Linked DNA regions of Homo sapiens: region 1 is linked to region 2. The links are contacts of gene promoters, found by promoter capture Hi-C in human tissues and cell types (Jung and others, 2019). All regions are on one chromosome and are shown on one strand. Each heading gives the region's core, a stretch centred on a gene start or on the middle of the fragment in contact. The rest is flanking DNA. Distances are from core to core; before and after follow the strand shown. Region 1 overlaps IFT88 (intraflagellar transport 88). Region 2 holds the start of IL17D (interleukin 17D).

Region 1 (6,843 bases), core at 3,434-5,933, 57 kb before region 2:
AAATACAAAAATTAGCCGGGTGTTGTGGCAGGCACCTGTAATCCCAGTTACTCCCGAGGCTGAGGCAGGAGAATCACTTGAACCTGGGAGGCAGAGGTTGCAGTGAGCCAAGATAGTGCCACTGTACTCCAGCCTAGGTGCAGAGCTAGACTATCTCAAAAAAAAATTAGTTTTAGAGCAGATAGCATCATAGTTACTCCTGTTAGTCTTTTTGTTCTGTTTTGTTCATTTAATTTCTCTGAAACTGCCAGTGTCATTATCTTTTACCACCCAGTTCATGATCAGCTTGGATCCAGTCAAGCAACTGATGTATTTGAGACTGTTTGAGTACATTTTCTTTTTTTTTTTTCTTGTGGTATCACACTTGTCATCGTTAAAAACAGTAGATCTTCTGGTGTCACTCTTGTCACCATTGAAAACAATGCTTCTTTTTCAATAAACTTTGAATTGGAATATTTTCATTTCACTGAGATATCTAATATGTATAAAATAAATAGTAATTAATCAAAAAGTACTGATATGAATAAATTATTTGTATATACACCGAAGACTTAGTAGGTACTAAAAGGAAGCTACAAAAAAAAAAAAAAACAACACTGTCCTTGGGTTTATAATCTAATTAGGGAAAACTCACAGGAAAAACACATGGAAATAATTTCCTTAATATGCTGAACATGTTAAGAAAAAGAATAACTGGATGCAACATTCAGGACATTTTTATTAAGGACAATTTTTGGACAATACTTTGAATAATTCTACCAGAAATTTGGGAGTTGATCTTAGTGGATAGTAATGGAGGAAAAGGGAAAGCAGGCTATATACATAGGGAGCAAGAGTGTTACCTCCACAGTACTGCTGCATTCCATCTCCACCCCTGAGATATCCAGAGGAAACAGTATACAATAGCACATTACTGTAGGCTAAGAAATATTGTTACTGTAATGTTTTTTAAGTTTGCTTATTGCTTAATGAATTTAGAAAACATGTTTTCCTTAACTGACATTGCATAAGATATGAATTAATGGAAAATCCCAGTCAAGCTATTGAATGGCTAATGCAGGTGGTCAGTGTTATTCCAACCGATCCTCAAGTTTTATCTAAGCTAGGAGAATTATATGATCGTGAAGGAGATAAATCTCAAGCATTTCAATATTACTATGAGGTAGGTGTGTTATCTTAATTTCCTTCTGTGTTTTAGCATTTTATGAATTGTTATAAAGAAGGCAGCAAGGCTTTAAAATTTTAGAAGATCTTACCAGTTTTAAAATGATTTATTTAAAATAAAGCATTCTTGGAAAATGAAGTTAGTTTTTGTTTTGTTTTGTTTTGAGATAGAGTCTTGCTCTGTCGCCCAGGCTGCTGCACAGTGGTGCAGTCTCGGCTCACTGCAGCCTCCTCCTCCTGGGTTTAAGCAATTCTCTTGCCTCAGCCTTCCGAGTAGCTGGGATTACAGGCGCCTGCCACCACGTGCAGCTAATTTTTGTATTTTTAGTAGAGGGGTGTTTTGCCATCTTGGCCAGGCCAGTCTCGAACTCCTGACCTCAGGTGATCTGCCTGCCTCAGCCTCCCAAAGTGCTGGGATTACTACCACGCCAGGCCTGAAGTTAGTTTTTTACTTGTTTTAATGAAAAAATGAAATAGGGCTGGGCATGGTGGCTCACGTCTATAATCCCAGCACTTTGGGAGACCAGAGTGAGAGGATTGCTTAAGACCAAGAGATGAAGAACAGCCTAGGCAACATAACAAGACCCCATCTCTACAAATAATAATAAAAGGACAGTCCTGGTGGCCCATACCTTTAATCCCAGCACTTTGGGAGGCCAAGGAAGGCAGATTACTTGAGGCCAGGAGTATGTGACCAGCCTGGCCAACATGAGGAAACCCCCTCTCTACTAAAAACACAAAAATTAGCCAAATGTGGTTGTGGCATGCCTGTAATCCTAGCTACTTAGGAGACTAAGGCACGAGAATTGCCTGAACCTGGGAGGCAGAGGTTGTAGTGAGCCAAGATCGCATTTACTACACTCCAGGCTGGGTGACAGAGCGAGACTGTCTTAAAATAATAATAATTAATAATATTAATAATAAAAAGAAGTACCAGTTCATTTTTCTCTTGAGGCACGATTTGCATCTCTTTTTTATTCTTTTAAATATTTAAATTGGACTCAGCTCATATATTGTTATATCAAAAGTATAGATAATTGAAAAGTGTGTCAAGCAAAGCTTAGGTTTTCTAAATATTATATAGTTTCAGAATTTACAAAGTACTTAGGACAGTTCATACTCCTTTATTAAGAAATTCCATATTGGATAAATTTATTCAATAGGTAAAGTATTCAAGAAGTAAATTATATGTTGCCATTGAAGTTGTATTGTTACATTCCATATTTGTTTTACAGTCATATAGGTATTTTCCTTGTAATATTGAAGTCATTGAGTGGCTTGGAGCCTATTACATTGACACCCAATTTTGGGAAAAAGCTATTCAGTACTTTGAAAGAGCTTCTCTTATACAGTAAGTAATCATTAGGATTTTATGTTTAGTTAATGTCATGTCTTGAGTTTTTTTAATCCCTAGAATTAGTATCTGATAGACCTAGTAAATTCAAGAACAGATGTTGATGGACATTCATAAATTATTTTTGTTTGTTTGTTGTTTGTTTGAGACGGAGTTTCGCTCTTGTTGCCCAGGTTGAAGTGCAATGGCGTGATCTCGGCTCACTGCAACCTCCGCCTCCCAGGTTCAAGCGATTCTCCTGCCTCAGCCTCCCGAGTAGCTGGGATTACAGTCACGCACCACCATGCCTGGCTAATTTTTTGTATTTAAGTAAAGACAGGGTTACACCATGTTGGCCAGGCTGGTCTCGAACTCCTGACCTCAGGTGATCCACCTGCCTCAGCCTCCCAAAGTGCTGGGATTACAGGCATGAGCCACCGCGCCCAGCCAAATTATTTTTATTTTCTTATATTTTATTCCATTTTACTTGGTCTTTATTGTGATAAATATATTTCCCTTTGCATAGAATTTTTTAAATATCCTCTTTAAGATACTTTTCTTTATGTATTTTTCTTACACCTCAGCAAACAATTATTGTTCCTTTATCAATCAGAAAATGACTTATCTCAGTCCTAGGACAAAGTTTCATCTCTAAAAGAGTCTTAATACAAGACAGTTTTGTTGGTTTCAATTTATAATTAATATATATGAAAAATTAAAATGTTTTCAGTGTCTTTAAGTTCGTATCAGAATGTGTTATACATATCTGATTCAAAACAATTCAAAAATAATTGGAATACATCATCTTCTGCTTTGTATTTGGCCATATTGAATTTTAAGAACAAATGCCCCTTAGAATAATTTGAATGATAAAGAAATGCTTAATAAGTGAAATGATTTCTGTTTGGAATTTCTATTAGGCAATTCATTTTGTGATATTTATTTCACATAAATTTCTTTTGAGAATTATAAAATTAATTACCAAGGATGAGGAGATAGTTTTAGTTTAATTATATCTTTAAGATTAAAGCTATTTCAGTAATACACTGTAAGCTTTTTAATTACACTTAATACTACTCTAACATTAGCCATTAGCTCATGCAACACTCTTCCTTCTTTGAGGCTCAGTCCGCCACTGTTCCATTTTTAACTCCTATTTGTAAATGTCAGATGTTGATTAACAGTCAGTCCCTTACCTTACCTAGTCTAGCTTATATTCTTCCTTTTCTTTCCATCACTATTCTAGTCCCACAAGTTTTGACCTCCCTAACTCCATTGATCTTTACCCTCTCTGTAGTTCAGTCACCTGACTCATCTGATTGTGATTATCACTAACACATTTACACCAATAAAATCTTTTTTTTTTTTTTTTTGAGACAGAGGACGGAGTCTTGCTTTGTCGCCCAGGCTGGAGTGCAGTGGCGTGATCCCGGCTCACTGCAACCTCTGCTTCCCAGGTTTAAGCGATTCTCCTGCCTCAGCCTCCAGAGTAGCTGGGATTACAGGCACATGCCACTGCACCCGGCTAATTTTTGTTTTTGTTTTTGTTTTTGTTTTAGTAGAAACGGAGTTTCACCATGTTGGTGAGGCTGGTCTTGAACTCCTGACCTCAAGTGATCCATTCGCCTCAGCCTCCCAAAGTGCTGGGATTACAGGCGTGAGACACCACGCCCAGCCTACACCAATAAAATCTTAAGTTACAATGTCCAGCTGTCTGAACATAACCTCTTACCTTTCCAACTTCCATACTCCCTATTTTCCAGTGCATTTTTCTTTGGTGATATTGAGACCTCCCCTCTTGACCTTCCCCTTATCTTGCAGTCTCAGCCTCCTTCTGACTTTAATTCTGAGCTTATCCATACTAGATTGCTTAATTGGTCACATCTTTTCCCTTTCTTGCTAACATTCCTGTTTTTTTTTTTCTCTCTCTCTCTCGCTTTACTACCCCATTTATTCCAAGAGATTTCAGTTCTTAGGTTATTCCAGCCATTGATTCCATTCCTTTACACAGGCTGTGAAATACTGTCAAAGGTAAATTATGTAACCAGGTGAATTGATGCTACACAAATCTGTGTGATATGAGCACTGCTCATCAGTCTTAAGTATTTCTCTCCCTCCTGTTTCTCTGATCTCTTCAATTCCCCTATGTATTTTATGCCTCGGTTTCCCAGAATATAGAAGCCTTTTTTAGAAACCTTCCTAACATTTCTCTCTACTTTTCTATAAACTTACTTCCACTTGCACCTGCTGTTATCTCCTTCTCAGTGACAGAAACTTATTCAATATACATTCATTATATTACATCTCTTTTGAGCATTTGTTTTCTATACCATATATCTTAATTTTTCACATTTTCTCTTTTTTACATGCTAAGCTTTGATTTGTTCTGTAAGTTCTACCTCTACAATAAAAATGTAGGCTTTTTGAGAAGTGAGAGTATTAGTTCTTATGTCACATAGTTCTTTACATATTCTTTAAATATTCTTTACATGTCAACTTGGCATATAGTTGAATTAAATTAAATTTCTTTACCATAGAAACTCCTTGCCTTGCTGTATCTCTTAGATTTTTATGGTTTTTAATAATATGATGTTTTGGCAATTGGTTTAAGCATAAACTGTTGTTTTATTTTCTTTACATTCATAAATCATGTCTTAAAATATCAAGAAACCCTAGTTCTGACTGGTCCACTTAATGTAATTCCATTCTTCAGCAGCATTAGGTAATGTTCTTTAATATTGATTGTGATGATGGTTATTATAAGACACCATCAAGTGGACCAATATATGCATTATGGGAATTCCAAAAGGGGAAGAGAGAGGAAAAGGGAGGAGAGAGACTATTTGAAGAAATTATTGCCATACTTCCCAAATTTGAGGAAAGACATGAATCCAGAAGTCTGCACAGGCCAGTGAATTCTATGTAGGAAAAACACTAAAAGATCCACAATGAGACACATTATGATCAAACTGTCCAAAAACAAAGAGAGAATCTCGACAGCAACAAGAGAAAAGTGGCTTATCACATACAGGGACCCTCAGTAAGATTATTAGTAGATTTCTCACCAGAAACCTTGGAGGCCAGAAAGCAATGGAATGATGTAAAGTCCTGAAATTTAAAAGCAAACAAACAAACAAACAAAACACAAACTGTCAACCAAGGATTCTGTATCCTGGCCAAGCGTGATGGCTTATACCTGTAATCCCAGCACTTTGGAGGCCCAGGCAGGCAGATCACCTGAGGTCAGGAGTTCAAGACCAGCCTGTCCATCATGGCCAAGCTCTGTCTCTACTGAAAATACAAAAATTAGCTGGGTGTGGTGGCAGGTGCCTATAGTCCCAGCTACTCAGGAGGCTGAGGCATGAGAATCGCTTGAACCCGGGAGGCGGAGGTTGCAGTGAGCAGAGATCGCACCACTGCACTCCAGCCTGGGTGACAGAGCGAGACTCCATCTCAATAAGTAAATAAATAAATAAAATAAGTTTGTATTGTTCAAGTGAGATTGTTATAAGTTTCAGATGTTAATTATAATACCCAAGGTAATCATTAGGAAAATAACTAAGAAATCAAATAGTACACTATAAAAAAGTATTAGGAAAATAACTAAAAATCGAAATAGTACACTAAAAAAAATCAACAAAATACCAAAAAAGAGTAGTAATGGAAGAATTGAGGAAGAAAAAACATATAACACATGCAGAAAACAAATAGCAGAAGCAAATCCTTCTGTGTCAATAATCACATTAAATATAAATTTATTAAACTTTCCCATTAAAAGAAAAACTTAGCAGATTGAATAAGAAAATCAGGGTCTATTTATATACTGTCTACAAGAGATGCACTTTAGATACAAGGACACAAAAGAGGTTGAAAGCAAAAGGATTGAAAAAGATATTCCAAACAAATATTAATGGTAACCAGAAGAGAGTTGGGAGGCTTTATTATTGTCAGACAAAACAGGCTTTAAGTCACAAAAGGTTACAAGAGCCAAAGAATGATGCTATATATTGGTAAAAGGTTCGTTACTGCAAGAATGTACAACACTTAAAAACCCAACAGAGGAGCCCCAAAATATATGAAGCAAAAATTGATATAATTAAAGGGTGAAATAGACCTCATATTAGTTTGAGACTTAATACTTTTAAAAATGTGTGTTACCGTCTGTGAACCTCACACGGAAGATAAATAAGAAAATTAAGACTTAAGCAATGTATAAACCAGGTAGACCTAACAGTCATACACAAGACACTGAACCCAACAACAGGAGATTGTACATTCTTAAGTGTACATGGAACGTTCTCCAGGATAAACCATAGGTTAGGCCACAACTTAATAAATTGAAAAGA
Region 2 (6,130 bases), core at 188-2,687:
GGAGATTTCAGTGAGATTTTTAGCAGTAGATTACTAAGCTCCTTAGTTATAGAACATTCAATGCATAGGAAAGTGTTTTTCCTACAAAGCATAACTGAAATGTAGTTTAACTAATGGTTTACAATTCAGTCAAATACCAAAGCTGCAAACCATTTAGGGAGTCATCAATTACATATTTTGTACACTTTCAAAAAGCTTACAGCTGGGATGGGTTGTTTATTTTCAAAGCATGACTGCTTTAAAATGATCATATTCTTTAGCCTGCCACCTAGGAAGCATTAAGCATTTACTTGCAGAATGAACAAACGAGCACGTTGTCTTGTGTTATGAAGTATATAATATAGTTCGTTTTAGTTTCTTCATTCGCAGACTATCAGGCTCATTTCACGTGACTGCTTGCACTTAGAACTGAGTTATCACGGAGTAGGAACTCTCCAACATCGTCGTCATAGACCAAGAGATGCCCATGAACAGCCATGAAAGTGCCAGTCAGGGAAGTATTCAGTGCTTTGTTGTAGAGTTGTTGGATAGAGGCACAGGATCATTTCATGTTGTTGAGGAGAAAGGAGCAACAGCCTCCTCCCACCTTATTAAAAATAGAGATTTAAAAAAACCTCTAATTTCCTCGAAGTACAGAATCTCAAGAGGTAGCTCTAAGGAGAATCCCTCTGGGTTTGAGCGCATTCCTCTTCCAGGGGGCCTATTCTTGGACTGCTTTCCTTAATAGAGAAATCTCTCTGAGCCAAAATCGGCCTCCCCCAATTCCATCCTGTCGGCCCCACTTTTCTGCTTCGGAGACTTCCAAGCCAGTCCCCACTCCTCCTTCAGCCAGTCGGGCCCGCACCCGCGCCCGGCAGGGCCAGCCCTCTCCTCCTCCTGCGTGGCGCAGCACAGGCCCTGAGCGCGCGACCCCAGGCCCTGGGCGCCCCGCCGCATGCTCGCGGCTGGAAGCCCCAGTTTGCGTGGCCCTTCGGGTTATTCCGCTCAAGAGCCGCCGCGTCGCCCCATCTCGGCGCGAATCTGAAAGCGCTTTCGGGGGAGAAGATGTTGGGGGCACTGGTGAGTACACTGCACAAGTGACAAAATGTTTTCAGCTCCTGGAGGCGAAAGGTGCAGAGTCGCTCTGTGTCCGTGAGGCCGGGCGGCGACCTCGCTCAGTCGGCTTCTCGGTCCGAGTCCCCGGGTACGAGGAAAGACCACAGGGGGCTTCTCGCGGAAAAGCGGGCCGCGGACCCTGCGCGGGCTGGCTGGGGCGGGCGGATGACGAGGCGCAGGGGCAAGGGTGGGTCTGCGAGGCGGCGGGTCCGGGCGTCTTAGGCTCCGGGGCTCCCTCGCTGGCGGCGGAGCAGGGATGGCGCGCCCGGGGGTGAGGGTGCGGCGGGTCACAAGCACTCGCAGCCCGCGGCGCAGCAACCCGGCAGGCACACGCACACGTGCACGCGCGCCCCGCACCCGCCCCCCGTGCGGCCCCCGGCTCGGGGCGGCGGCGGCGGCGGGGGCCGGGGGCGCGCGGGCCGGCGCCGGGCTGGGCCCCGGGGACCCCGCGGGCGGCGGGCAGGCGGGGAGGGCGCTCTGGGGCCCGCCCGCGCGGCTCCCATCCTCCGGGCCGGCCTCTGGCTCCGCGGGGCGAGGGGAGGCGCCCGCCGGCTCCGGGCGCCGCGGGCGGGACACGGGCGCGGGGCGCAGGCGGGCTCCTCCGGCGCGTGCGGACGCTGAGCGTGGCCTGTCCCTCAGGTCTGGATGCTGGTAGCCGGCTTCCTGCTGGCGCTGCCGCCGAGCTGGGCCGCGGGCGCCCCGAGGGCGGGCAGGCGCCCCGCGCGGCCGCGGGGCTGCGCGGACCGGCCGGAGGAGCTACTGGAGCAGCTGTACGGGCGCCTGGCGGCCGGCGTGCTCAGTGCCTTCCACCACACGCTGCAGCTGGGGCCGCGTGAGCAGGCGCGCAACGCGAGCTGCCCGGCAGGGGGCAGGCCCGCCGACCGCCGCTTCCGGCCGCCCACCAACCTGCGCAGCGTGTCGCCCTGGGCCTACAGGTGAGCCGCGGGCGCGTCCTGGCGGGGCCCGGCAGGTGGGGAGGGCAGGGCTGGGCGGGGAGAGTGGGTGGGGCCGGGCCGAGGCCGGGCAGGCGGGGAGGGTGGGGCGGGGAAGGGGAGGTGGTTGGGGCGGGGCGACGCGGAGGGGGCGTGGCACGCGGGGCGAGGCGGAGCAGGTAGGGGTGGGGTGGTGCGGGGCGAGACAGGGTAGGGTACGGTAGGGTGGGGTGGGGTGCGAGGGGCGCTGCGATGAGGCGGGGTGGGGCGGGGCAGTTGGAGCACTGGGGGGCAATTCCTAAACTGCGAAGGCCCACCCCCACCACCTCCCTTGAAGGAGTCCTGCTTCCTCTCTTTACCCTCCAGTATTTCCTATGCAACACGTATCTCTTGAACACCTCATCTCCTCCAGGTTGGATGGGTCCGCAAGGCACTAGCTGGGGACCCTTCCGTGATGTGGACACAGTGATGTGGACCGTACTCTGCACAGGGGGCCCGGGGAGGTGCTGCTGGGGGGTGCGCGGTACTATCCACATATTTCCTGAGTGCCCCTGTGGTCCAGAGGCTGCTGGAGTGGAGCCCTGGGAAGCGCCCTCTGAGCCCCTCTAGTTTAATAGCCTAAGGAAGGAGTGGGGATAATTGGGAAAGAAACCACACCATCAGGCAGTGCATGAAGTGACATGAACAGTTTCGAGAGTATTTTGGTCTTGGAACAGAGGTCATTTCAGAAGAAAGGGACAGCCTGCAGAAGGGGAAGGCTGGAGAAGTTGGGGGCGTGTAGGCAGGGTGCCGCAGTGTCCTCAGCAGGCACCTGTGACCGTCTTCCCTCTAGCTGGAGCAGGAGGAGCTGCCCTAGGGGGCAAGGCCTCCCAGGGCCACAGAGGTCAAGAAAGGCTTCGTGAAAGAGCTGAGTCTTGATGGAGGAGAGCAAGTCGCCTACAAAGGCAGTGCTGAGGGAAGGGACAGCTGATAGCAAGCGGGAACAAAGCGCTTGGAAAATGGGGAGAGCCACAAGGCGAGCGGGGGCGGTGGGGGTGGGGGGGCGTAGGCGAGGTGTTTGCCTGTGGGGTGGGCATCGATGTAAGGCTGGAGACAGGTGCAGGAGCTGGATCCCCGCCTTGTCAGCAGTGCAGAGCTTCACCCTCACGCCTGGAATCCCAGCACTTTGGGAGGCCGAGGCAGGAGGATTTAAGTCCAGGAGTTCGAGACCAGCCTGGGAAACATAGCGAGATCCCATTTCTGCAAACAATTTTTAAGGATTAGCGAAGTGTGGTGGCACGTGCCTGTGGTCCCAGCTACTCCAGAGGCTTAAGTGGGAGGATAGATTGAGCCCGGGAGGTTCAGGCTGCAGTGAGCTGTGGTGGCGCCACTGCCTTCCAACCTGCGTGACAAAGCGAGACCCCGTCTCTAAAATAAAAATTAAAGAGAAAAAAAGTCTTGACACTTGAGATGGAGGAAGCCATACAGCCACTCTGGTTTAGGAGGGTGTCCCAATGGGGCATGGATTGGACAATGCTCTCCAGCACTTCCATCCAAAGGATCTAGGGCTTCACTCAGGCAGCGCGGTGGGAAGGGGAGACTAGGATCAGCGTGAAAGATGCTCATTAAAGAAGACAAGTGCTGTGGAGAGTCAGAGGAAATGTGATGATTTTGTCTAAAACGCATCTGGGCTTTCCTGGAGCCTCTCCCTGCCGGCTGCTGGGTAGGGAGATTTCCTTTTACTCAACAACACACAGGACCCCTATGCTGTCCTGGGAAGCCAAGTTTTAGGGCCTCCTGCCTCCTGGCTACTCTGCAGAGGACCAAGCTCACTGTGGCAGAGCCCCCTCAGAGCCCCTGCCCACGGGGAAGTTGGGTGGGACCCCTCCCGCCCTTCTCACTCCTGTCCTTCAGCTGGAGCCTGCAGGGCACACACATGGCGCCATTCATTCTGGTATCTTGGTGCTCTTGCTTTTCCTCTCTCTTCCTCCATTTCCAGGACCTGAAGGGATGGACTACGGCATTCTTCTTTCTCTAACCTCGTGTTATGCTTCTGATATACCAAATAGGATTAAAGCCACATAAGGAATCTCTCAGAACCAGAGATTAACTTCTCTGGACAGAAGCTGCTGGCCCTGCTTTCTATAGCAGATTCGAACTCTCAGGCAAACCCGTGGCTCCCCACAGGCTGGGCCAAGGGCCTAAGAGTAGTATATAGCCTCCCAAAGGCATGTCTCTCATGTTTCTGGCTTGGGTTGTTGATGGTATTTGAGCAAAATGAGAAAATACACTTAGGAACAAGTGTTGTGGGAGGAAATAATGAATTTAGTAACAAGCCTGTTGAGTTTTGCCTGCCTGAAAGGCGTACAGGTGACAATGACTGGTTGGAGCTCAGGAGACAGAGCAGGGCTGGAGGACACATGGAGAGTTAGCAGCACTGGCATTCTGTGTGTGGGAAGTTAAATTGAGTTGCCCTTGCTACAGATGACACCTATGTCGCCCCAGGCAGGATCTGGGAGCCGAGGGAGGTTATGGATGAGAATGACACACAGGGTTCGGGGATCGTGGTCTGGGCCACCCAGATCTGCCCACATGTGGAACCTCAGTGCTGGGTGGTCCCAGGAGCAGGAGTGGCAGCTGCAGCAGGGTGGCTGAAGGTGTCATGTGCATCATTTTTCATATTATTTAGCAACAGTGATGAGATCACTCCCCATGGGCAAACGGAGGTGGGTGGCTTATATTTGCTGAAGGAAGGACAGTCTTCAGGGGATGGCTGCTGGGCTGGGACTCCAGATTGCTGACTGCCAAAGCTGCTCCTGCATTTTCCTGCCAGGAGAGCCCTCTCTGCCCTCCTCCCTCCAATCACCTCTCACCATCTTTTGGGTTATTGGGAAGATTAGAAAAAGTGAGACCCAGCCAGGCCCAGTGGCTCACCTGTAAATCCCCGGCTACTCAGGAGGCGGAGGTGGGAGGATCACTTGAGCCCAGGAGTTTGAGACCAGCCTGGGCAACATAGTATGAGACTTATCACTACAAAAAAAACAGCCAGGTGTGGTCATGTTTGCCTGTGGTCCCAGCTACTTGGGAAGTTTGAGCCAGGGAGGCTGAGGCTGTAGTGAACTATGATTGTGCCTCTGCACTCCGGCCTGGGCAACAGAGTGAGAACTTGTCTCAAAAAAAAAAAAAAAAAAAAAAAAAGGAAAAGAAATAGTGAGCCAATGGAAGTGTGGAGCCTCTACTAAAAGATGTTGTGGAAGGACAGGTTTTTTCTTTTAGACAGAATCTCGCTCTGCCACCCAGCCTGGAGTGCAGTGACACAGACAGATCAATGCAGCCTTGACCTTCTAGGCTCAAGGGATCCTCCTACCTCAGCCTCCCATGTAGCTGAGACCACAGGTGCGCACCACCACATGCAGCTAGTTTTTTTGTTTTGTTTTTTAGAGATGGGGGCCTCACTTTGTTGCCCAGGTTCGTCTTGAAGTCCTGGGCTCCAGTGACCCTCCTGTCTCAGCCTCTCATAGTGCTGGGATTACAGGCGTAAGCCATGGTGCCAGGCCAGGGCTTGTTCCTTGGTGGAGTGTCTGAGGGTGGGGCCTGGGTAGAGGAGTGCCCACCTGCAGGCTGGGCACAGGGTCAGGTGGTATTTCTTTCTTTCTTTCTTTTGAGACAGGGTTTTGCTCTGTCACCCAGGCTGGAATGCAGTGGCATGATCTTGGCAGACTACAACCTCCATCTCCTGGGTTCAAGCAATTCTCCTGTCTCAGCTTCTGGAGTAGCTGGGATTACAGGTGCATGCCACCACGCCCAGCTAATTTTTGTATTTTTAGTAGAGACAGGGTTTCGCCATGTTGGCCAGGCTGGTCTCGAACTCCTGGCCTCAAGTGATCTGCCTGCCTTGGCTTCCTAAAGTGCTGGGATTACAGGCCCAAGCCACCACGCCCTAAAGGCACAGCAGTCAGAGAGAATGCTGAGAAAGACAGATAGGGAGATGGACTGAACGTCAGGAGTACTGATGGGCACAGCAAGGATCACTTTAGGTGGATAAGTTTTACAATAGGCATTTGGAAGGTGGCTTTCCATACGGATGGAATGGAGACCTGGGTCATTCAGTAAATGGTGTTGGG

What was found. Contacts are between HindIII fragments. The study calls those that stand out against the background at their distance.
Region 1: a contact is called between a fragment that was not itself captured here and the fragment with the promoter of IL17D in region 2, in 1 of the 25 tissues and cell types used here (liver).

What each region holds. Positions count from the first base shown.
Region 1 is chr13:20,642,444-20,649,286 of GRCh38, forward strand. It overlaps IFT88 (intraflagellar transport 88), which reads left to right. Exons shown (of 26, transcript NM_006531.5): 19 at 1,012-1,162; 20 at 2,400-2,515. Among named protein-coding and RNA genes, the nearest start is that of IL17D, 58 kb to the right of the region's middle. The HindIII fragment of the contact is 3,594 bases long and covers 2,887-6,480 here.
Region 2 is chr13:20,702,262-20,708,391 of GRCh38, forward strand. It overlaps IL17D (interleukin 17D), which reads left to right and starts at 1,438. Exons shown (of 2, transcript NM_001385224.1): 1 at 1,438-2,030. The coding sequence starts at 1,741. RefSeq lists silencers at 820-899, 1,320-1,459, 1,750-2,259. The HindIII fragment of the contact is 9,244 bases long and covers 1-3,877 here.